Regions from separate parts of the Homo sapiens genome. Here regions 1 and 2 are each linked to region 3. Evidence: promoter capture Hi-C in human tissues and cell types (Jung and others, 2019). All regions are on one chromosome and are shown on one strand. The core of a region is centred on a gene start or on the middle of the fragment in contact, and the rest is flanking DNA. Distances in the headings are between cores, read along the strand shown. Region 1 holds the start of SPINK8 (serine peptidase inhibitor Kazal type 8 (putative)). Region 2 holds the start of CSPG5 (chondroitin sulfate proteoglycan 5). Region 3 overlaps MAP4 (microtubule associated protein 4).

What was found. Contacts are between HindIII fragments. The study calls those that stand out against the background at their distance.
Region 1: a contact is called between the fragment with the promoter of SPINK8 here and a fragment that was not itself captured in region 3, in 1 of the 25 tissues and cell types used here (dorsolateral prefrontal cortex).
Region 2: a contact is called between the fragment with the promoter of CSPG5 here and a fragment that was not itself captured in region 3, in 2 of the 25 tissues and cell types used here (liver and lymphoblastoid cells).

The regions. Positions count from the first base shown.
Region 1 is chr3:48,331,719-48,335,013 of GRCh38, forward strand. It overlaps SPINK8 (serine peptidase inhibitor Kazal type 8 (putative)), which reads right to left and starts at 1,943. Exons shown (of 8, transcript NM_001080525.3): 1 at 1,817-1,943; 2 at 648-753. RefSeq lists a silencer at 2,288-2,488. The HindIII fragment of the contact is 10,965 bases long and covers 1-3,295 here.
Region 2 is chr3:47,577,489-47,580,501 of GRCh38, forward strand. CSPG5 (chondroitin sulfate proteoglycan 5) reads right to left here and starts at 1,377. Exons shown (of 5, transcript NM_006574.4): 1 at 1,109-1,377; 2 at 1-440. The coding sequence starts at 1,205. RefSeq lists silencers at 588-677, 728-787, 828-877 and an enhancer at 2,002-2,706. The HindIII fragment of the contact is 21,614 bases long and covers 1-3,013 here.
Region 3 is chr3:47,980,920-47,984,319 of GRCh38, forward strand. The region is part of intron 2 of MAP4 (microtubule associated protein 4); the gene reads right to left. Among named protein-coding and RNA genes, the nearest start is that of MAP4, 34 kb to the right of the region's middle. The HindIII fragment of the contact is 4,461 bases long and covers 1-3,400 here.

The DNA.
Region 1 (3,295 bases), core at 693-3,192, 350 kb after region 3:
GAAAATGGTAAAGTTCCCTAGTCACAACTTAGTGTCTGGGAGAAGTATCTAGTGACTGCCTGTCCTAGGACCCCTCGGATAGTGACAGATCTGGAGGACAGTTGTCTGGGACAGGAGAGTAAGACTGAGAAGGCCGCGCTAGTGTCCAGCAGACAGTTAACCTCCTGGCCCTCAGTGGTCAAGCATACCTGGGGAGGGTGATGCCAGGGGCTGGCGCTTGCCCCAGGCACCCTCAGTCCTGCTGCTGGATCATCTGGTTAGTGGCTTCTGACTCAGAGGACCTTCATCCCCTGGGGCAGTGGGCCTTCCAGTGATACCCTTGAAATAAGGGGCATGGATGAGGGGGTGGCTTATTTCTATTCGGACAATCTTTTTTAAAGTGTCCTTGTAGACCGCACTGGAATCAAATCCCTATTAGGCATTCGATTTGCCCAGCCTTTCACTTTTCCAGAGCCTCCAAAGTCCACTTGCCTGAAGGCCATGACTAAAGCGGTGGCCTTCTTTTTATCCCGTTTGTCCAGTTCTGCCTGCTCCTTCTGATCTCTATTATAAAAACTGAGGCCAAGTTCTTAGTTTAAGTTTTGTTCCAGGCCTAAGGCGGATTTTGAAGTTTTTTTCTAATGTCTGCAGCTGAGTGATAAACTTACCCTTTAAGATTAGTTGGCCTTCAATAGATCCAGATGACAGAGAGGTATGCTTCCTCAATGCCTCCCTTAGTCTCTCCAGAAAGGCAGTAGGATTTTCTTCCTTTCCCTGTGTTATAGTGGGCATCATTGAATAATTCATAGGCTTCTTCCTAGTTTTTCTTAGTCCTTCTAGCATGCAAGTTAGCAAATGTCTGCGGCACCAATCTCCACATTCTGATTCTGCGTCCCATTGAGGGTCTACACTGGGAACTGCCTGCTGGCCTGTGGGGAATCGTTCTCTTTCCTCTGTTGTCATCCTATCATTGACCTGACTGAGATACCAGAGATTGCCAAACTCTTGGGCTGCAGTTATAGCGGCACTTCTCTCATTTGGGGTTAGTATCTGATCTAGCAGTAACATTATGTCTCTCCATGTCAGATCAAAGGATTGTCCTAACCCTTGTAAAACATCAATATAGCCATCAGGGTTATTTGAGAATTTACCTAGGTCTATTTTAATTTGCTTCAAGTCTGAGAGGGAAAAAGGTACACACACTCTGGGCTGAATTCTCCTCCTCCCACCACTTCAAGGGGGCATAATCTGGGAATATTGGCACTCTTTGGTTCATTGTTTACCCCTTTCTCTATCTCCTTTGGCACCGTTTGTGTTGAAGGGGGGTCATTATTAGTTGGGGAAGGAGCCGGGGGAACGCCGGGGCAGGGGGGTAGATTCTGAGGGCTTCCTGTAGGGCATAAATCACACTTTTAACATAATTGTGAGTTGTCTCTTAATGAAAAGAAAGTTTGCACATATGGCACTTCGCTCCATTTGCCCTATTTTCTACAAAAGAAGTCTAGCTGTAAGATGGTGTTATAATTTATACTTCCCTTGGAGGGCATGTTTCTCCCTCTTGAAGAGGATATTGTGGCCAGGGGTACTGCAGAAGAATATAAGTCGTTTCTTTCTTAGCATCTGAGGGTCAAATTGGTCCTAATTCTCTAGAATACATCTTAGGGGCGTTTTTGCCTGGGAGGGGGGAACGTTTAAAAAGAACATAGGGATGCCAGCACCCCTAGTCATTTTCTGATGAGCATTAGTCCTAGAGCGTCCTCTGTGGTCCTAATGCTTATTCCTTTTCAGGGTGCGTAACCACCCACGGACCTCTGCTTATCAGATTAGTTACACTCACCGATGTAGCAGTCCTGCACCTGTTTTCCTGCCCTTCTTGACCACAAAGAAAGGGGTCTGGGCTGCTGGATTCTAGTGGTCCTTTACCAGCGTGCCTGACATTGCCTTTGCACTCAGGAGTGAGTTCTAGAGCTGGGCTGGGTTTCTGAGTATTTCATAACAACCCAGTTGCCCCATCAAGATGCATTTTCATAAACAACAGTTCTTATGCAAATTCGTTTCAGAGAGGGTGTAGGTAACCTTTTGAGTCAGGATTGAGATAGAGTTTTTGCCCACTAGGGCCTTTGTCCTTTTCCTTTGTAGGAATATGCCTTAATTATCGAACTTAAGATTTTGTTGCCCTGGATTAAGTCCTTTTGGGTACGAAATATGAGAGATGGCTCCTGTTTATCCTATGTGCCTTTTTCCTACGAGAAGGAGAGCGAGGAGAAAAAGATGGGCTTGCTCTTTTTGTAAGTACTTTAAGGCTTGGCTGAGTGCAAACAGCTCGCAGTTTGTGCAGACCAATTATGAGGCAATTCTCCTAACTCTGCTTCCACAAGAGTTTCCTTATCAATTACTGAATACCCATTGTGGTTTTTTCCTCAATCGCCTGGGAGGAACCATCTATCGTCCTATCCTAAAGGAAGTTCCTCCTAGGTCTGGTTGGACCTTTGCATGGCAATTAAGATTTAAATCCCCTGTTAGGAAATCTGCTGGGTTAAGGGAATTATCAGTGGTTGGTGTTAAATCACCTTTTTCTAACAGAATAGCCCCATACTTTAAGAATTTTGAGCTAGTAAGCTACCTTTTTTTTTTTTTTTTTTTGGTCTTAGGATTGTTCTGAACTGGTGAGGTGTGCTCACAATGAGGTTTCCTCTAAAGGTTATTTTTCTACTTTATTCTGTTAGCAAAGCAGTTGCCACTACAGATTGAATGCATTTGGGCCATCCACGGGTTACTGGGTTCAGGATTTTTGATAGGAAGGCTATGGGTTGTCAGTGGTCTCAGTGTTTTCGGGCTACGCCCTTGTTTACACTGACAACAAGGTAGTATTGGAGTATTATAGGGTCGTGGAGAAGACCTTTAATTATCAATTATAGGTTCTAAATTTACCTTGGCTTTTAAAGGAATAGGGTACACTGTTTTTTCTTTACTACCTCTCTCTTTCCCTTTTTTCTTTCTTTCTCTCTTTGACTTTCTGCCTCTTCCTCTCTCTGTCTGTCTTTTTTTAGATGGATTTTGGAAACGCAGTGGAAGGACGTTCACTTGTTGCCCCAGTTTGCCACTATAGGAACATGTGCCTCCCTTTAATTTACTCAAATTCGTTTTCATCCTGATCTATTATGTTGTTGTAGACTCAGTTCCAGTTGTTAAAATACTGGGTTATCAGTTCTAAGGGCCTGGCCAAGGAGCCAAGGCTTGGAGATTGTATTGCAGGGGGTAGTAAACTGGGTAGAAATTAGGGGAGGAGAGCATCTTACACAATGGGAGAGCGATC
Region 2 (3,013 bases), core at 127-2,626, 400 kb before region 3:
CAGGTTCAGCCAAACCTCCAAGGGGCTCTCCTTGGGGAGTTCAGAAGCTGGGCTCAGCTTGTCGCCGGGGGTGGGGGAGGGTGGCCCGCTGGCCTCTGTAGCCTCAGGAATGGCAGGGGGCATGATTGACTGCCCGAGGACCTCGTGGGGAGCCTGGAGCGTAGCTGGAAGGGCCTGGGCATCGCCGCTGCCCGCCTCTGCGGTCACTCCTCCCAGGCCTGGGCTGTCAGCTTCCAGCCAGGCGGTGCCGGTCACCGCAGCCGACTCCTGCAGCACCTCTTCTGGCCCGGCCAGCTCGCCACCGGGCGCCGTCCACGACGCCTCATCTTCCCCAGCCGCTGGTGGGCCGGCTTCTTCCCGCGTGTCGTTGGCAGGCGGCTCCCACGCCGGGCTGCCCTTCACCAGCTCTTCGGCCTCAACCGCGCTGCCCGCCTCACGCGCTGCGGGCGGGAGGGCAAGGGGCGGGACGTCAGGGCGGCGCGCTGAGGAGCCCTGGAGCCCCGGCCCGCCCCGGTCAGGCCCGCTCGCCTAGACCTGGTCAACCCAGACCTCGCCACCCTCAGACCCCACCGCCCCAGTGTGACCCCAGCCACCCGGTACCTCTAAGCCCCGTCCCGGAGTCTGCCCCCAAGACGAGGATCACACCCCGCCCAACGCCTCGCGGCTCGGCCCCGCCCGACCTGCCCCGCCGTCTGAAGAGCCAGGCCAGGGCGGCCCCCAGCTCGGCCCACCCATAAGTCTCACCCTCGGGAACCCACCCTGAGCCGCGTCCACTGGCTCCCGCCCTCAGCTCCAGGTCCCGCCCCGAAGTCTCACCCTCAGGCCCCGCCCCGGCCCCGCCCCGGCCCCGCCCCCGGCCCCGCCCCCAGTCCGCACCGCGGCCCGCGCGCTTGGGTCCCGGCTACCCCAACCGGGGTCGGCCCCCACGCGGGTCGGCCTTTCCCGGACCCCCACCACCTCCTGGGACCATTCCGCCGCCCGGCCGCGGCCAGGCGGTGCCCCGCCCCCTTGCCACAGCTCACAGCTCCACCTGTCCCCGCCGCCAGCGGGACCCCTGCCCTGGGTGGGGCACGAGGGCCGCGGGGGTCCCGGGCGCAGTCATACCTACCCGGCACGGCCCCAGAGGCCAGGACCAGCGCGGCCCCCAGAAACAGCAGCAGTGGCGGCGGCCCCCGGCCCGGGCCCCCGCCCCCGGCTCGCCCCATGGCGCGGCGCCCCGACCGCTGTCCGCGGTCCGCCCGGCTGGCTGCGCCCTCGGCTCGCCCGGCCGCCGCGCCTCCCGCCGGTTCTGCGGCCGCCTCAGCCCACGATGGGCAGCGCGAGGAGCCGCATGCCGCCGCCGCCGCCGTCCGCCGCTGTCCCCGGCGCGCCGCGCCTCCCCGCCTCCCGCGCCGCCGCTGCCGCCGCTGCGCTCAGCGCCGCCCTCACCCCGCCCGCCGCGCCGGCCCCGCCGCACGTAGCGGTGACGCCGGCCCCTTGGTCAGCCTGCCAGGGGAACAGACAGACCCCTCGCTGGGGACTAGGAGACACACGGACGGGGAGTGCGGGGCAGGCGGACGGGGAGCGCGAGGCAGGCGCACGGCGCGGCGCGCGGCGTTAGGCGGCAGGTGCACGGGCGGGAGACCTGTGGGATGGGGCCACGGTCCCGCCCCAGGTGAACAGGCGGCACGGGGCCCCGACCCGGAGGAACCCACCCGCCACGCGGCAAGCACGGAGGCGGGGACGTCGCGGGCCCAGTTACCCGCAGGGTCGGGGCGGGGTCCAGAAGAGCCGCAGGGGGCGGAAGCACGAGCCCCCACTGTGGAAACAAGCCAGGCCCGGGGCGCATGGAGCCTCTCGGATTCTGCACCAATCCCGTGTTCCGGGCGGGAAGGCTCTCAGGGAGGTCTCCGGGTCTCCACGAGGGAGGGGCGGGCGTTGGCAGAGCCTGGCAAGGGGGCGAAGCCGACCGCCCAGGCTCTAATCGGATCAGATCTAATCCGTTCGCAGCCAAAGCCACTAGCCTAGATCTCGCACAGCCAGGCCCGCCATAACGCATCCCGGGAGCAAGGGGTAAGACCCTCCCTGGGACTGCGGCTACCTCGCCTTCCTTCTAGTCTCCGGGCAGCCTGGGGAGCGGCCTTTAATCCTGGTCCCTTCTCCGGGATACGTCGTCCCCCAGGTGTCTCAGACCACCAAAACTCAGGTTCCTGGGTAGACCAGGGGGGTCTAGATCCCCAGCCGGGCACACATGGATGCTTGGCTTTAGAGTGATCTGTGGGGCCCATTCACAGCTTCAGGGCTCACAGGGCAACCCAAGACCACGCACCAGGAGGTCTGCTTAGTCGGCAGGAGGAACCGCAACCTAGTTACTTAGTTTATTCCCCCAAACCGACCGTCTACCCCTTAATGTGTTACTCACCCAAATGACAGTTCAGGGTATCAGCCCAAGGAGATAGGACAACTCCAGTATTTAAGAGACGGTCCCATTGCTGTCTTAGAAGACCAAATAAGTGACCAAGATGGAGATTCTATCTCCTAATCTTTCTGATACATATCTCCAGATGGAGTTGCCTTGGTTCAAAACCTGTTTCTCAGCAGAACTATGGCTGCAGCCTATTTGCCTAGCCTAGCGTCTCCACCTCTCCTGCCTGGTAAACTCCTCATGCCAGAAAAACTCAGTTCTTATCACCTTTCCCTCTATGAAGGCTTCTCAGCAGTTACACTTAATGCCCATCATCTCATCTTATCTACAGTTATTCCTCACTGGACTGCAAGGCACTTGAGTGCACAGGGCTGGTAACAGAGGGAGGCTCCATATCAGACAGGCATAAATGAACGAATGGCAACCACCCACACCCATCCCAGAACTGTGGTCTGGAGAGCCTTGAAAAAAGGGGTAAGGCTCTTTCTTTCATAGTTTCATGCTGCCTCCGGGGACCAAGTAAAATATGTTTGAAACAATAGCCTTCTCTAAACAGGGGACCATGTAGGGCTTTGCACTCACCTCAGCCACAGAGGCAGCAACGCACCC
Region 3 (3,400 bases), core at 708-3,207:
AGTGATAAAACCTTTTAAAATTTGATAACCAGCATTGACAAGGGTAATTTCATTACATCATTTGGGGGAATGTAAATAGGAATAACCTTTTTATGAGACAATTTGGCAGCCTATCAAATTCTGCAATACTCAACTCAACAATCAGTTTTAGGTATTTAGTTCAAAAAGAGACATAAAAGTATAAAAAAGTGAATATAAACAGAATGTTTATGATGGCACTGCTTAAAAACAACAAATGTCCACCAACAGATTATAATATTGTAAAATAGTACACAGTAATAAAAGAAATGAGAGCACTTCGTGTTACCGATACAGGAAGATAACAGGTATCTAATAGCTAAATATAGATAAAGGCCAAGACACCCTAGGGTATGCCTATAGTCCCAGCTATTAGGGAGGCTAAGGCAGAGGGGTGTCTTGAGTCCAGGAATTTGAGACCAGCCTGGGCAACATAGTGTGACCCCATCTCTAAAAATAAATAAATAAATAAATAAATTAGCTGGGTGTGGTGGCACACGCCTATAGTCCTTATCTCGTAATAAAAAATAATAATAATAAAAAAGAACCTGGCCAGGTGCAGTGGCTCAAGCCTATAATCCCAGCACTTTGGGAGGCTGAGGCAGGTGGATCACTTGAGGTCAGGAGTTCGAGACCTGCCTGGCCAATGCGGTGAAACCCCATATCTACTAAAATACAAAAAATTAGCCAGGCATAGTGGCGTGTGAATCACAACTACTCTAGAGGCTGAAGCACAAGAATAGCTTGAACCTGGGAGGCAGAGGTTGCAGTGAGCTGAGATCGTGCCACTGCACTCCAGTCTGGGCGACAGAGCAAGACTCCATCTCCCAAAAAAAAAAAAAAGCTTTATTCCCATATATTTACCTATGTGATTAGGGTTTCTTCACTATGATAGCTACAAAAACAGGAAAAATTGCCAATCCTATTTCATCAGAGAAAGAAATATTGATCCACAGACCCATGATTTAATTGAGAAAAATAACAGACCCCATCATCTCATAAGAAAAGCATTTCCAATAAAATTCAACTTGTATAGTAATAACATCAAAAATTACAACCTATGTTGGCCGGGCACAGTGGCTCATGCCTGTAATCCCAGCAATTTGGGAAGCCAAGGTGAGCAGATCACTTGAGGCCAGGAATTCGAGACCAGCCTGGTCAACACAGTAAAGCCCATCTCTACTCTTCTTGAGGAAACAAATAGGATTAAGTGAAAATGAAGGGAGATTTAAAAAAAACATAATACATGCAATAGACTGATAAATTTCCTCTGGACCAAGTTAAAACACAGAACCTTTGTCACAGGAACTTTAAAAATTAAAATTTAAGTTTACATACATATTTAGTAGCAGAAACATATTAGCACAATCAAGAAAAAACTTTTAAGCATAAAAATATATTACATTAGGATAAAAGTCTGAGACATGTTATGGAAATAAAAGTTCAAGGACTCAAAAGAAGAATTTAAATTTCCAATGATAAAGAACAGCTTGTTCGTATATTTTTAAACTAGATGATGGAAACCAAAATGCTATATATTTAGAAGCATTTGGATACATTTAGCAGAATGAGGTAACTTATTTTTATGTGGCAAAAGTAAAACATTCTCAAAATTACATGTTTTACAACTAAACTTTTGCTACAAAATTTTAGATGTAAACTTAATGTACAAAGAGACAGAATTTATCAGAATTCTGAGTATGTGACCAAAAGTTAAGACCACTACTTTAGACCAAGTTAAAAAGAAAGCTTGATATATACTGACAGAAAGTTTTCTAAGATAATAAACTAAAAAAAGCAAGTTAAAATTCATACGATTTGATTCCATTTGTAAAATGGAATCAAATGAAAGTAAAGCCACTAAATTTTTTATTGTATGTTTGTAACTGCAAAGAATAAAGTCTTAAAAGATCTACCCTTCTTGAGGAAATAAATAAGATTACATGAAAATGAAGGGAGTTTTCTTTGTTTTTTGTTTGAGACAGAGTCTAGCTCTATCGCCAAGACTGGAGTGCAGTGGCGCAATCTTGGCTCACTGCAACCTCTGTCTCCCGGGTTCAAGCAATTCTCCTGTCTCAACATCCCAAGTAGCTGGTAGCTGGGACTACAGGCGTGCGCCACCACTCTCAGCTAATTTTTTTATCTTCATTAGAGACAGGTTTTCACCATATTGGCCAGGCTGATGTCAAACTCCCGACCTCAAGTGATCTGCCTGCCTCAGCCTCCCAAAGTGATAGAATTACAGGCATGAGCCATGGCACCCGGCAAAGATTTTGACTTAATTTTTAAGAGAGAGGGTTTTGCTCTGTTGCCCAGGCTGGAATGCAGTGGTATAATCACACCTCACTGTAACCTCAAAATGCTGGGTTCAAATGATCCTCCTCCCTCAGCCTCCCAAGTATATGGTGACAACAGGTGTGCACCGCCACAGTTGGCTTATTTATTTATTTATTTATTTATTTAATTTGAGACTGAGTCTCCCTCTGTCACCCAGGCTGGAGTGCAGTGGCACAATCTCAGCTCACTGCAACCTCTGCCTCCCAGGTTCAAGCGATTCTCATGCCTCAGCCTCCTGAGTAGCTGGGGCTACAGGCATGTGCCACCATGCCCGGCTAATTTTTTGTATTTTTAGTAGAAACAGGATTTCACCGTGTTGGCCAGGCTGGTCTCTAACTCCTGACCTCAGGTGATCCACCTGCTTCGGCCTCCCAAAGTGCTGGGATTACAGGAGTGAGCCACCACGCCCAGACAATTCTATTTGTATAAAGACAGGGTCTCACTAAGTTGCTCAGGCTGGTCTCAAACTCCTGGGCTCAAGTGGTACTCCTGCCTCAGTCTCCCAAGTAGCTGGGACTACAGGCGTGAGCCACCATGATCAGCCTCGTCCACTGAGCTTTAATTCAATGCTACTTTATTTATTTTGTTGCTCAAATTTTTCCAGTGTTGGCTATTGGGAACTCTTTCAGTTGACTCCTGTGTCCCTCTGACACACTATCTCTGTCATTGTGGGCTTTGGAGCATAACTCCAACAGTCTTTTTATAAATGATCTGTGCAATTAAAGGTAATTTTTTTTTCCAGTGAAGGGCATAAATAATGAGATTTAATTGCGAATAATATGCATAATGGAAGTCTCATTTGCACATATCTGTTTACTTTCTCCCTGCCTTTCCTCCTGCCTCAGCCTCCTGAGTAGTTAAGACTACCACCACACCCAGTTAATTTTTTATTTTTTTTTTCTTTGTAGAGATGCAGTCTTGCTGTGTTGCTGGGGCTGGTATCAAACTCCTGGCTTCAAGTACTCTTCCCGCCTCTGCCTCCCAAAGAGCTAGGATTACAAGTGTGAGTCACCATGCCCGGCCTCCCTGGTATTTTTGACCTAAA